Regions from separate parts of the Homo sapiens genome. Here regions 1 and 2 are each linked to region 3. The links are contacts of gene promoters, found by promoter capture Hi-C in blood cells and fetal thymus (Javierre and others, 2016). All regions are on one chromosome and are shown on one strand. The core of a region is centred on a gene start or on the middle of the fragment in contact, and the rest is flanking DNA. Distances in the headings are between cores, read along the strand shown.

What was found. Contacts are between HindIII fragments. The CHiCAGO score rates a contact against its expected background, and 5 or more counts as called.
Region 1: the fragment with the promoter of ZC3H15 here is called in contact with the fragment with the promoter of DNAJC10 in region 3 in 6 of 17 cell types (non-activated CD4 T cells, activated CD4 T cells, total B cells and 3 more); the score reaches 16.7 in non-activated CD4 T cells.
Region 2: the fragment with the promoter of FKBP7 here is called in contact with the fragment with the promoter of DNAJC10 in region 3 in 3 of 17 cell types (total B cells, naive B cells and M0 macrophages); the score reaches 9.8 in total B cells.

What each region holds. Positions count from the first base shown.
Region 1 is chr2:186,484,491-186,489,104 of GRCh38, forward strand. It overlaps ZC3H15 (zinc finger CCCH-type containing 15), which reads left to right and starts at 1,770. Exons shown (of 10, transcript NM_018471.3): 1 at 1,770-1,967. The coding sequence starts at 1,893. It overlaps LOC105373785 (a long non-coding RNA gene), which reads right to left and starts at 1,510. Exons shown (of 2, transcript XR_001739147.3): 1 at 1,310-1,510. It also overlaps the pseudogene DPRXP1. RefSeq lists an enhancer at 1,400-1,879. The HindIII fragment of the contact is 12,604 bases long and covers 1-4,614 here.
Region 2 is chr2:178,475,640-178,479,949 of GRCh38, forward strand. FKBP7 (FKBP prolyl isomerase 7) reads right to left here and starts at 2,961. Exons shown (of 4, transcript NM_181342.3): 1 at 2,640-2,961; 2 at 1,423-1,574. The coding sequence starts at 2,860. The HindIII fragment of the contact is 11,907 bases long and covers 1-4,310 here.
Region 3 is chr2:182,714,642-182,719,330 of GRCh38, forward strand. It overlaps DNAJC10 (DnaJ heat shock protein family (Hsp40) member C10), which reads left to right and starts at 1,616. Exons shown (of 24, transcript NM_018981.4): 1 at 1,616-1,842; 2 at 2,375-2,431; 3 at 3,300-3,649. The coding sequence starts at 3,446. It also overlaps a transcript of PDE1A not described here. RefSeq lists enhancers at 1,099-1,248, 1,269-1,338, 1,683-2,287 and a silencer at 1,849-2,008. The HindIII fragment of the contact is 1,821 bases long and covers 349-2,169 here.

The sequences.
Region 1 (4,614 bases), core at 520-3,019, 3.8 Mb after region 3:
ACTTGAGGCAAGAAAGGATCTTTGTTCTCTACCTGGGCTACACTTCAGAGGAAAAAACCGAAAGCAAAGGTCAGGAGACAGAAGAAGTTATGAACCATGAAACTGGAGCCATTATCATAACATTATGAGACTCTAGATTCTTTGTAACTTCCCCATATTTGTTACTTATAATTCATTTGCCTCATAATAATAATCAGTAAAATTACTCAAAATCAAAGGCCCAAAGGGCATCTTTGGGGCACTAAAAGTAGGAAGTTAAGACAACTACATTCCATATGCAAACAAAGTCTCAAAGGAGACGATCCCCAAATAATCAAATGGATAATAATACTGAGTAAAGAGGGGGCTGGCTGCATCCCTCCATCCTCTGACAAGAACTATGACAATTACAAAAAATAAAGATGAAAATATGTAAAAGGGGGGGAGCCCATTAACCTGCCAATATGAGCCCAAATGAAAAAAAGTGTGTCAACATACACCTGCCATTCTCGACACAATTCTTTTTAGTAGCTATCACATTTCTTCTACACACACACATACACACACAAAACATACTTGGGGTTCCTTGACATTATCTTACGTAGAAAATTACTAAGCAAATAATCAATTTGACTAAGTAGGGGGGCTTATCGTTTTCTCCCTATTCAAATTAATGAAAAAGATAAAAAAACTTTTATCTATAAAGATGATTCTTGGTTCCACAATGCTTCTTAACAGAAATAGTTTAAACAATAATCATTTTAAAAAATAACAGCTAAGCATTGTACATTTTTAAAAAATAGTATTTTCGTTTGTACAAATATCAATGGGTCCCATTCATCATTCAAGTACCTTTTCAAACAGGATCTAAGTTTGTAATGTTAGGTAATAGGCATATAGGCTGAAGCCGGACTGCCAAGATTACAATTGCTGGCTCTGTCCTTAATATAACTTTGGGCATCTTTCTTCCTTTCTCTGCTTCATCTATAAAACGAAAACAGTAACAACTCCCACCTAAGTGTCGTTGTGATAACTAAATGAAATAGTGTGTGTAATGTGCCAAGGAATTTCTGGAGCTACCAAGCACTTAAACTAAGTTCTAACTAAGTTTGGTTACTTTCACGTTATAAAGGAATTTTTAGGAATCACCTAGGCACTCTCCTAAAGTCTCAAAATAACTTAATACAGTACTTCTAAGGAGTTCAAGTGCCTCCTTATCTGGGACGCCATCTCAGATGCTCTTCAAATGAAAGGGACCCTGCAAATGAAAGTTAACTTTTTCCATTTTTTAAATAATCCTTCGCAGGAATCTGAAGCACGCGACACTCACGGGCCATTCAGCTCCGCCTCTCCAGGGAACAAGAAGGTTAACTGAGTAACGTGGTCACGGAGCAACCCCGAGTCGCTGCGGCTGCTTAGTAGTCACTCAGGATGGGGATGGTACAGGGGACCATTAACTGGCCCGGCAGGAAAAGTTTCCCGGTGAGGTGACGATGGACAAGAGTCGCCCCATCGTAAGCGAAAGTGGACTGAGAGGAAGCACAAACGCATGGACTCAACCAGCTCGCCCAGATTCACCCTCAGGCCTTTTGCCATCTGAAAAGGGCCTATCGGATGCGCGACATCACGAGTGACGCGTAGTCATTTTCCCACGTCCCGTCCCTGCCCCCTCCTAGTGGGACGCAGTGGGCGCGCACGCGCAGCTCCGCTTCCGGGAGCCGCTCCTCGCTACCCACTATGCTCTGCGACATCGACCTGTCGCAAAGGCCGCGTTTGCGGGGCCAATGAGCGACTCGCTTTCCGTGCGGTGCGGCGAGTGAGGCCCCGGTCTTCCTCCTCGTCCTGCCGCAGGGCCAGAACCCCTGACGGTATTCAGCTGCGCGTAAGTCTGGCCGGTGCCATCTGTCTCCGCAATGCCCCCCAAGAAACAGGCTCAGGCCGGGGGCAGCAAAAAGGCGGAGCAAAAAAAGAAGGAGAAGATTATCGAAGTGAGTACCCACCCCTCCCCCACTCACGCCGCGAGCCCTCCGGAAAGCCACTTCCCCGCTCCGGGCTTCCCTGGGAGCCGGCTCGCTTCCTCGGGCCACGTGTTCCTCCCTTAGGCCTGTGTGGCCCACTGCCCCTTCTCCAGCCCCTGATGACGCTAGCTCTCTCATTACTATAGTGACGCTGCTGGCGCCCCCGCACCTGGGCTTTGCCTCTCCGCCCACACGCCCGTGTTCACCCACCCATGCACCCGGGTGCGAAATGACCCCTCGGGACTGGCACAGGGTTTTATCCTTCGCTAGTCCTCTCAGAATTGAGGAGATTTTCCAAGGTTATGTGTGAAGAAATACGCTGAACGGTCTCGGGCCAGCGTCTTTCTGGAAGACCGACTCATGACGAGTCTTTGTGTTCGTTATTTCTTTACCCGTCACCCAGGGATGGTACTGTTAGTTCTTTTGAACCAACAAATTACGACTTGGTGGCTTTTTCGATCCACCTCTGAAATGTTTAAAGTCCCATAAAGAATGGAAGGACTTTCCGTCACAACCCAGGGTCTTGAACGCAGAGCTTGGTACTTACATTCTGAAGTGGATTAAATAGGATAACGCCTTAAAAGAGATTAGGTTTCAGTGTCACTAATTGTGTGAAGTCCCGTAACCCAGTTTGAGATATATGTGTGTGTGTGCGCGTGTATATATGTATACATCTATGTGTGTGTATATGTGTATATATGTGTGTGTATATATATTCGTTTAACACATTGAGCCTGTAGCCCTTTAATGGCCAAGGAACGCTATTGACGTTCTTACATGTTGTGCACTTGTTTTCCAACAACTGAATTGAGTTTCCTTAAAAGATGAACCATATTTGACATTACGTAAACATACCATACAGACCCCAACGAGGTATTTCTTCCCTCGATTTCTGCTATTAATCCTCCTCATAATTAAATAGGACCTCTTGTACTTTGGATATAATTAGAAAAAGCCATGACCATTTTACCGCATAAGGTGTAAAGTCTGCTCATTGGATTTAAGAAAATGCTTAAGAATTTTGCTATACTTGGCCAGGTTCCAACTTTGGAGGAGAACTGGTATTCTTATTGCCAATTTGTACAGTTTAAAACTGTCATGAAGTACTATAGCCAGACACTTAAAAACAAAATATTACCTTCACATCTGTGTTTTCTATTACCTTATTTGAACAATCTGGATTCGTGGCACTTAGGTAAATTTCAGGGGTTGCTGATCGGATGGCATTCACTTTTATGAAAACCAAGGACATTTTAGGGATGTCGTTTTCCTCGAGATTGGACCCTGATACGAAGTAAAACTCCCATTGAAATTAAATGTTATGTAATAATTTAGACAATTTAAATTATACTTCATGCATTGTAGAGCTTTCTCTATATCTAATTGTTTTATTTTTAATTAGTAGGACTAGTATTCTTATTTTAAGGAATTATGTGTGAAAGTTGTTTATAGTATCCATCAACTTTTAAAATGATGCATATGTTATGATTCTAGTCATCTTGTGACGAAATTATTTTTTAGCTAAAGAGAAAGCAATTTTAGTTTCAATAATGAAGGTATCTCCAAAGAAAAATGCAAAATAAGACAACTGCACTTTTTAACTAAAAATATTAACAACAACAAAGTGGTGAAATTAAGCCCGATTTTGTGTTTTCTACATTTAATATATATTATTTTTTTAATTTATTTTTTGTTGAGGTATAACTTATGTAAAATAAAATGTACAGGTTCTAGATGTATAGTTCTATGTGTTTTGAGGAATTTATTCACCCAGGTAGCTGCCACCCTAATTAAGACTTGAAACATTTCTATCACCCCACTAAATTTGTTTTGTGCCTCTTTCTATTTAATTCTTTCCACACGTGCAGCCACTAATTTTTTTGACAGGATAGATTAGTTTTTACCACTCTAGGAACTCATATAAATTATACAGTAGGTAGCCTTTGTGTCCTTCTTCTTGCTTTCACACCATGCAGTGTTTTTGAGATCCATGCATGTTGTGTATATTTCTAGTATGTTCCTTATTGCTGAAAAGTATTCTCTTGTATGGGAACCATTACAATATGTCACCTTTTGTGTTTAGTGTCTCTCTCTACTTGGAGGAACCAAAAGACGTTATAATTGACGCTTGAAAAACAAACTTAGGATTCCAAAATGGGTTAGAGGCGGTGTTTGTTAAAATCTCGGCAGCCAGAATGGATTATTTTGTGGCTAATGGAGTCATCTGTAGGGACCTTAACCTTGGGGCATACGCTGAGTTGGCATGAGAGTGTCCAATCATCTGTATACATTAGAGCTACAGGATAGGCATCATTAGGGGATCTGGGTGGTGTGTCTATTTCTCTGGGAAGGACTGGTCTTGACTACACCCTCAGTTAATTGCAGTTGTTGAGCTTCTTGCTTTTGCTGAATATGCTTGCATTTTGCTTTCTTGTGTTTTGTGCTATCATTCTTTAACCTAACCTGCAGTACCGTTGGATGTATGTCTTTGAGGCCATTTCTTTCTGAAGACTGAGGTTTGGGTATGGGTTCTTAGTGAACAAGATGTTCAAATATTCCATTTGTTTCTCAGTGATCATAGTTTGTTTCCTTTGAAATGTGTCCACTTGCCTTTAAG
Region 2 (4,310 bases), core at 1,711-4,210, 4.2 Mb before region 3:
TGATGAGTGAAATATGATGTCTCATTTTTAATTTCTCTTTATGAATAAAATTAAGTATTCTCATAGACTTAAAGGCCATTTGTAGTTTTTTGTTAGTGGGTGCTTATTTATGAATTTGGCCCATTTCTAGGGATATGTCATTTTCATTATTGGTTAGCAAGTCTTCATACATGTTACAAACATTTTTCCCGCTTATTTGCTTTACCTAGGTTTTCAGATCTTTTTGCTGTAGGATTTTTAAAATGACAAGATATTGAAAGAATAAGATCATTTCTTGCACATTTGAAGGCTTGTCCTGTATTGGGGTAATAATGACTGACAGCCCATTATATCTCAGCTGTTCCTTTTACAATGTGCCCGTCCTGTCCTTTTACTCTAAACCTACATGTTCCAGTTTCTGAGTTTTATGAATTTAACTTTGGTACTGCTTACCAAAGATCTGTGTTATAAATATTTATGTAATAATAACATATGCTGAAAACAAATAAAAATGCTTAAGGTAGAGCTTATAGAATATATATAATCATCATGAGTGTTGCCACAATGTAGAAGAAAGAACTCTGGCCAGAGATCTATATTCAAACAATGTCATATTATCCTTATAAGCAAAAAGAAGGGACTGGACTGAACTAGATAGAGCTTAAGGTCATTGGGCTTTACTGTTCTCTTTATTTCATCTATCATTTTTTATTTCACTTTTTTGTTTTTAATTGTGGTAAAATACACATAACATAAAATTTACCATCATAACAATTTTCAAGTGTGTTGTTCAGTAAAGTACGCTTACACTACCATGCAACCAATCTCCAGAACTCTTCATCTGGCAAAAATGAAACTCTATACCCATTGGTCAACAATTCCCCTTTTCCCTCTCACTTCAGCCTCTGGCAATCACCCTTCTACTTTGTCTCTATTAATTTGACTACTCCAGGTACCTCACATAAATGGAATTATACAGTATTTGTCTTTTTGTGACTGGTTTATTTCATTTAGCATAATGTCCTCAAGGCTGATACATGTTGGTGCATGTCTCAGAATTTTCTTCCTTTTTAAGGCTGAATAATATTCCATTTCATTTTTTTTTTTTTTTTTTTTGTAGAGCAGGGTCTTGCTGTTGCTCAGGCTGGTCCTGGCCTCAAGTGATTCTACCACCTTGGCCTCCCAAAGTGTTGGGATTACAGGCATGAGCCACTGTGCCTGGCTTCCATATATGCATGTATTCATTTTGTTTATCCATTTCTCTATGTATGGACATGTGGCTTGCTTCCATCTCTTGTCTATTGTACATGGCTGCTATGAGCATGGCTGTACAAATATTTCTTTGAGACTGTGCTTTCAATTCTTTCAGACCTATATACCCAGAAATCTATTAATCATTTTTTAAATATAACTAAAACAAGAAATTAAAATTAAACATCTTACCATAGCCTTCCTTTCCGTATGCAAATGAAGGGGGTATAACTACTTTTCGCTTTTCTCCAGGGCACATATCTGTCATAGCAATGTCTAGGCCTTTTATGACTTGCCCAACACCAAGAACAAACCATTTGGGGTGGCCTTCATTTTGTGTCCGGCTATAACAAAAAGCAATACTTAAGTAAACTGATTTCAAGAAATCAAACTTGAAAATACAGCTGGGCATTTAAAATTGGAGTCCTCTCTAACCATCATTCCCATATAATCACTCTTTCTAAAACCCTTAATGGGGTGTTTGACTCAAACTTCCCTATAATCACCAGAAAGAAGTATGATTTGCCCAAAGTTAATCATTAACAGCCATCTCATTTTTTAAAATTGTTATCTTTACAAAAACTATTCAACAGTTAACTTTTTAATGGGTCTCCAGCCCCTAACTAGGTGCATGGCTTGTACAAAGAACTCATTTAACTCCCTGGGTTTGTTGTAAAAAAATGATAGGGCAGTTTTAGCCTCAAAAAGTCATTTTAATAGTAATTTAAAATGGTATATTTTCTTATTAAATTCTAATGATATAATTTATTAAATTCTTATTAAATTATAAAATTGTATAAATTCTTATTAAATTTCTCTATTTTATTCTAAATGGATGGAACTGTTTTTCCCAGTCCTATCTTTACAGGGTAAAGAAAAGATTCTCCCTCTGAGTAATAAGCCATCAATTAAATCAGAGTAGGCACCAGGTGGAATGAGGGAGCAGGGCCCACCAGAAGTCACCAGGGAAGTAACTGTTTTTCTTGATAGAAAGTGGCCACAACCTATAAAAATCGTGCTTCTGAAGGCCAGAATTAAATCTCTTTATTCCATGTATTCCTCCGTAAAGACTCAATACTTCTGGCAAGGGAAAAATGTGAACATCCTTATAGGCAGAACCTTGATTTAATTCTGGAGGTCCCAAGGGTAATGGTGGTGGTTGATGTGTGTGTGGATGTATCGTATTTTTGATAATTTATTGCCACAACATTTTCAATACTTTAAATAAAAATATTCAGTTTATTAGAGAAACACTGCCATATAATGTGATTTTTTTTAATGAATAAAGGGCTCAACTTTTACCGTTAAAAAATAAAACCCCAACCAACCAACCAATGAGGCTTCCGCTTGGTGGAGGCAGGCAAGATTTTGTGCAACTGGACGCACGGGCAGCTCGCAGCATTTCCTACCTGCAGTAGAATTTCGAGCCGTCTTTAGCCAGGTAGCCGTCATAATGGGCATTTAGTAGGTCTCCCTTCTTGCTTGTCTTAGAGCAGTTTTCTGGACGATGCAAAACTTCTATTTTCACTTCTTCGGTGCTCTCCTCTTTCTTTTGTCTCTGAGCAGTAAAAAGGCCCCACAGATAAAAGAAAACAATGAATCTGAATAAGAAATGCATGGTTTTTGGCATCGGCTCCAGCAGAACACTGCTCTCCCTCCCGCGTGTCACTCGCGCCCCGTGGATGTCCCGCGGCCGAGTTCCGACGCGTGGCAGGCGTTGTCCTGCGTCACAAAGGGCCGGGGCGGGGCCATAGATGCGGCCCCGCCCTCTCATGGCCCCAACCCCTCCGCCTCCCGCAGCGGGCTCAGCGCGGTTAACGCTGTTTCTAGGCCCTCGGGCTGGCTGTCCTCAGTCTTTAAGATCGCAACGCACACTCGCTCCGCTTCTTCTCGCTAAACCCGCGTATTTTACAGCAGGTTTCCTCAGGGTTCGGTGACAACATTCGCATTTTCTAAAATGAAACTGGCATAAGACGAAATAAACAGCCTGGGATGTCGTAGAGTCAGGGAATATGGTTGTCATTTCTGGAAGCAAAAGGCTTCTAAGACCCCTAGGGAACGAGCAGATAGATACTGGGGGGAGGGAGAGGCATGCTGGAAAAGGAGCGTAAAAAATAGGCTGGCGGTGGCTTTCTGGGTGCTTCGGAGGTGTCCTTGAAGCGCATTCTCAGGTCGGAATCTTGCATTCAGAGGTTCCAGGCTGAGTCGCACAACCTGAAGGCCAGCCCGATGCAACGAAACTGCGGTACCGCAACTCCTCTGCCTGGCTGCAGGCGTTTCCGAGAGCCGACCTCCACAATTCAGCATCCTCCGCTGGCTTGCATTTCTTTTCCCCGCCACTCGGGGCCGCCCTTGATTCGAGGGCCTCTGGTAGTGCGGGGAATGTTCTTTTGACTTTTTTGTACCATCCCATGGGATACGTAATTGTCCACATCAGTCAAGAAAACTTGAGTATTGGGCATGTTGTCCCAATCTCACAGCTAATACGCAGCAGGGATTTGGTCAAATCTGTGTGACAACACCACTTCACCACCAATTTTAGTATGAAAACCTTTAAAATACACAGAAAGTTGAATTCTACAGTAAACTCTCCTACACCCACCATCTGGATCCTGTCATTGAACTATATTATATTTATTACATATCCATCCATCACTCTATCCATCCATCAATTCGCCTTGTTTCCAAGTGAATACCCAAAGACTACCCAAACCAGAAAACCAGCAAAGGCCTTCTGCATTCGCCTGGATTAAGTTCTGGGAGTAGAGGTGCTATTCTACCTCGGTGATGCGAAGAAAAGCCGCAGCACTGAGCCTGATTGATGTGCTTTGCTTAAAGTTTGCAAAATTCCATAAACCTGAAAATTACTGTCGATTATGCAAGATGACAATTGCGTCCAAGCAGGAGTTTCAAAAATCATAAAAGCTAGGGGGAAGTCCCCATTTCTAGACTAAAATTCCGAAGTCGAGTTCCATGTTTTATATTCTAAATAAAATTGTGGCTATCCAAGGTTATCGGCGTGATGACAGTTCCTTGGGGGCCCTCGCCATTCCTTGTCAGAGGACCCCGTCTGCTGCACA
Region 3 (4,689 bases), core at 366-2,865:
GCAACCTCTGTCTCCCGGGTTCAAGCGATTCTCTTGACTCCCGAGTAGCTGGGATTATAGGGGTGTGCCACCATGCCCGGCTTATTTTTGTATTTTTAGTAGAGATGGGATTTCACCACGTTGGCCAGGCTGGTCTCGACCTCTTGACCTCAAGTGATCCACCCGCCTCAGCCCCTCAAAGTTCTGCGATTACAAGCGTGAGCCACCACACCCGGCCCACCACCTCTTAAAGCATTTACCCTATTTGTCTAACATTCTCCTGTTCTTTCTCCAGTTTTGTATGCTTTGCATCCTCTCTCCAATAGCTGCCAGGATGATCTAAAATACAATCTCAGTCTCTTTTTTAAAAGCTTCCTCATCACCTAAGAGATAGAAATCTATGTCTTCATCTTGGTATAAAAACCTGTCTGTGATCTGGTCCCTGCTTCATCTTCCAGTTTTCTGTTTGTTTTTCAATTTACTTTAAGATTTTGTTACAGTGTGTAACAAAATGGTTACACACTGTGTCATAATGCTTAACATCATAGTCTCTGAAGCCAGGTTGCTTAGATGTGAATCCTAGCTCTCAAATATTTGCCTCAGTTTCCTCAAATGGGAAATAGATATAGGAGCCACTATCTTGTAAGATTATTTGGAGGACTAAATGAGTTACTACATGTGTGCTTAGACCAGTTCCTGAGACATATTAACTACTATTACATCAGGCTGCTTCTAATGTTTGCCTTTGTTCATTCTACTTCCTCTTCTTTCCTACCAAGTATTAGCTTAGCCATAGATCCTGTGTAGTTTTCCAAGTTTTTAGAAGCTGACACTTGATTTACTCCCCGAAACTGTTACCAATCACAACTTATTTCATGTTAGGGTTGATGTTATAAGCAGGTATCCTCTAGGCTCGGTTTTCTCTTTTAAATATAGAAAATGTAGTAAATATAACCACTTCAATTGTTATATTGCTGTGGGACAAAATGCAGTTCCTGTACCATAGCAGTAGGAGATCAAGGTAAGAGAGAACAACGATAACTCCCCAGTTTCTAGCTTGTATGACTCAGAATCCAGAAAATATTGTAGAAGTCTCAAATGCTTGTTGATACACACGCTTACACAAAATTGTAAATGTTTTAATTTCCTTCAAGTTTCCTACTGCCTCTTCAGTCCGCTAGCCTGATACTGCAATCAGTGTCGCTTCAGGCAACTTCTCCTTTCTCCGCCAAATTTCGCCTTTCGGTCTCACCCACCCATCACCCAGACAAATCCTCCAAAGCTCCGTCTTCCCTTTAAAAGACTCTCAGGGAACTCAACCCCAAAACCCACCCTCTGGGTTTCCCCGTCACCCTGGCAACGGAAGCAGGAAGAGGCGGGCTTCGCCATCCACCCTCCCCGCCCGCGGCAGGCGCCGGCCGCATTGGTGAGGGGGCGCGGGCTGCTTGGCCAGGGCAGTTCCCTCAGCTCCGGGTTGGAGCCGGAGCCGGAGCCGGATCCCGCGCACACCGCCACGTCAACCTAAACCTACACCGCCCTCTCCACCCCACCGCCGCAGCGCCCGCTGGGCCCGCAGCGGGTCTCCCCAGGCAGCGTCCTCCACGCCTTTCCCACAATGCTCCGCGCCAGGCCCCGCCCCGGCTCGCCGTGGAGACCGGCGCGTGAGGAACCTACCGGTACCGGCCGCGCGCTGGTAGTCGCCGGTGTGGCTGCACCTCACCAATCCCGTGCGCCGCGGCTGGGCCGTCGGAGAGTGCGTGTGCTTCTCTCCTGCACGCGGTGCTTGGGCTCGGCCAGGCGGGGTCCGCCGCCAGGGTTTGAGGATGGGGGAGTAGCTACAGGAAGCGACCCCGCGATGGCAAGGTGGGCATGGGCCCGGGGCTAGGGCTTTGCTGGAGCCGGTGGTGGCCTGGGCCCTCCGGTCAGGGAGGGGCGGAATGGCTGAGCGCCTGAACCTCCCTTCCTGTGCGCTCTTAAGACCTGGATATTGTGTTCTCGCTCCCCACCTTCCTCCTCCCTGTTATTCACACCACCCTTCCTCTGCCCAGCGATTCCCTCTCAGTTACTTACACTTTCTCCCTAAGTCCGACCTGAGACTTCAGACACCAGCAACACTTAACAGCCCTGTTCCCCCGTGTCTTCATCTTTACCCCTCTCCCCTCTCCCACTCTGCAGTGATGGCAATGCGAAAGCTTGCGCCTTGCATTTACCTGGCGCTTCCACCTGCCCGGTAGCTCGGGCCACGGGCAGTTCGGCCACACCCACGCTGAGAACAACCCCTGGGCGAGAAACATCTTATCCCAAAGTGTTGATTGAGACTATGCCCTCTCTTTTTCTGATGGTTGTTTTCTTGTTTGGATACTTGTTAATCTCTACATCATTATATTTTTCAAAGGTATATTTTTGTGGAATGAAAAGGAAGTATTAGAAATGAGCTGAAGACCATTCACAGGTAAAGAGAAAAATTTTTAAATATACATTTAGGATTAAATGAAAAACAGAAATGAGGTGCGAGGAGCGTTAGATTTTTCAAAGCATTACGATCTCTTTGGAACTAAAATATAGTGGTTGAAATGTGATATGATGAAGTAATGATTGTTTTTGCCCTGCAGAGAGTATGTCTAAATAACCGATTCCCTTCTCTTTTTGTGTTTTGTTTCTACTTACACCAAACATGAACTTTGCAATAAAATTACACTGGTAACTTACAATTGTTTTTCTACTATTTTTAAAAAATGGCCTCTACTTAAATTCAGTATAAGCACCTTCTGAGGAAACTCCGGGAAGAAGATCGACTGCTGTGTAGATTGTCTATTATAACAATATATTTCACTGTCATTTCTGGTAGGGTTATATGAGAAGTAAAAAACCCTATGTTTCCTTCTAGTCCCTCCCAAGGACATTTCCTACAAGTGAATTCTGCTGAAAATGAAAATTAGACAGCTTTAGGAGGTAAAGAAGTAGCTAAAAGGAAGAGGTATTACAGGCAACGCTATAACTGGGTAGAAAGAGGAAGCACCTGTAGCTCATTGCCACCTTTGTGTTCTGATGCTCGTCAGAGGTCTTTTCTCAGTGTATAAATTGCTGAGGGTGTGTGTGCAAGCTACTTACTACCACTCATGACCTTTTTTCTGCTATCTTCAGTGATTTCACAAATCTAGCTACATGGATGTAGAAAGAGTGAAAAATAGAACCTGGGGCATTCACACTGATTTGCCATTTAATGGAGATTGTATTGCTGACCATGTTCTGTGATAAATAAATTGTGCTATTATTGTTTAGTTCAAAATGTATTTTAACTGCCTGCTTTTCTTTCTTAGATTAATATTTTTGGGGACAGATTTGTGATGCTTGATTCACCCTTGAAGTAATGTAGACAGAAGTTCTCAAATTTGCATATTACATCAACTGGAACCAGCAGTGAATCTTAATGTTCACTTAAATCAGAACTTGCATAAGAAAGAGAATGGGAGTCTGGTTAAATAAAGATGACTATATCAGAGACTTGAAAAGGATCATTCTCTGTTTTCTGATAGTGTATATGGCCATTTTAGTGGGCACAGATCAGGATTTTTACAGTTTACTTGGAGTGTCCAAAACTGCAAGCAGTAGAGAAATAAGACAAGCTTTCAAGAAATTGGCATTGAAGTTACATCCTGATAAAAACCCGGTAGGTAAACGTTTGTTTTTAAAAATATTTGATTATATTTTTGGTACATTTTGATATTTATTTAAATTGCTTTAAATGATCAAATGCTTAAGAATAATCATATGTCAAAATTATAATTCAACTTGTATGCTAGAAACAAAAGCACCAAAATGTTCTGGATTATTTAGGATCCCGTGAAGGAATGTCAGTACCAAAAATTCAGTTCCCTCTTAATTTGTAGACGATTTTCCAACAATTCTATTAAAGACATTAACCCCAAAACAAACGATAATATCCGTGAAGTAGTTGAAGTAGTTTTCTTATTAAAGTAGGTTAAGATCAAGTGTTTTAGAACAGGAACAAAAATATTTTTTTAAAACTCAGAGGGTATGACTTGCTAAAAATAGAAGTAATAGCTAATAATAGCATGTTTTAACTTTGACTGTTTTCTTCTGTGTATGCACAAGTCCACAAACCAGAGTTAGAAAGTTTTATAAATTAATACTTCACAGCAGCTGAATATAATGCCAGTCATAAATATTTATGTACACATTAATGTAAATCTTTCAAAACTAAACTCATTTTAATTTTTATGGTGTTTTTGTAATTTATTTGATTATTTCTTAGTGAGATTTAGCGTTCATCATTAACAAGAAGACATAGTTATAATTTTCTCTTTTCTAGGTAGAAGTTTTAAAATAGGATTATTTTCATTGCATAAAGCTGAGCAAGAGAAACAATATTTCTTTAAATATTGTTTAGTTGATTATCTTTTCCTAAGATCCACATTCTATTTAAGGTTTTTATTTTTTTTTAATTTTTCTTTAAAATTTCAAATAATGATTTTTAAGTTTCCATATAAAAGACAGTAGACCTTCTACCATCCGAGTATTATTTAAATGAAAGCATCCTTCAGAAACAAATTTTATGAAGCACAGTAACAAGGAAGAAACATTTCCGATCCAATTTTGGATTGTTTTCTTTTTTTTTTTTTTTTTTTTTTTGAGATAGGGTCTCACTCTCTTGCCCAGACTGGAGTGCAGTGACGCCAGCGGCTTCCT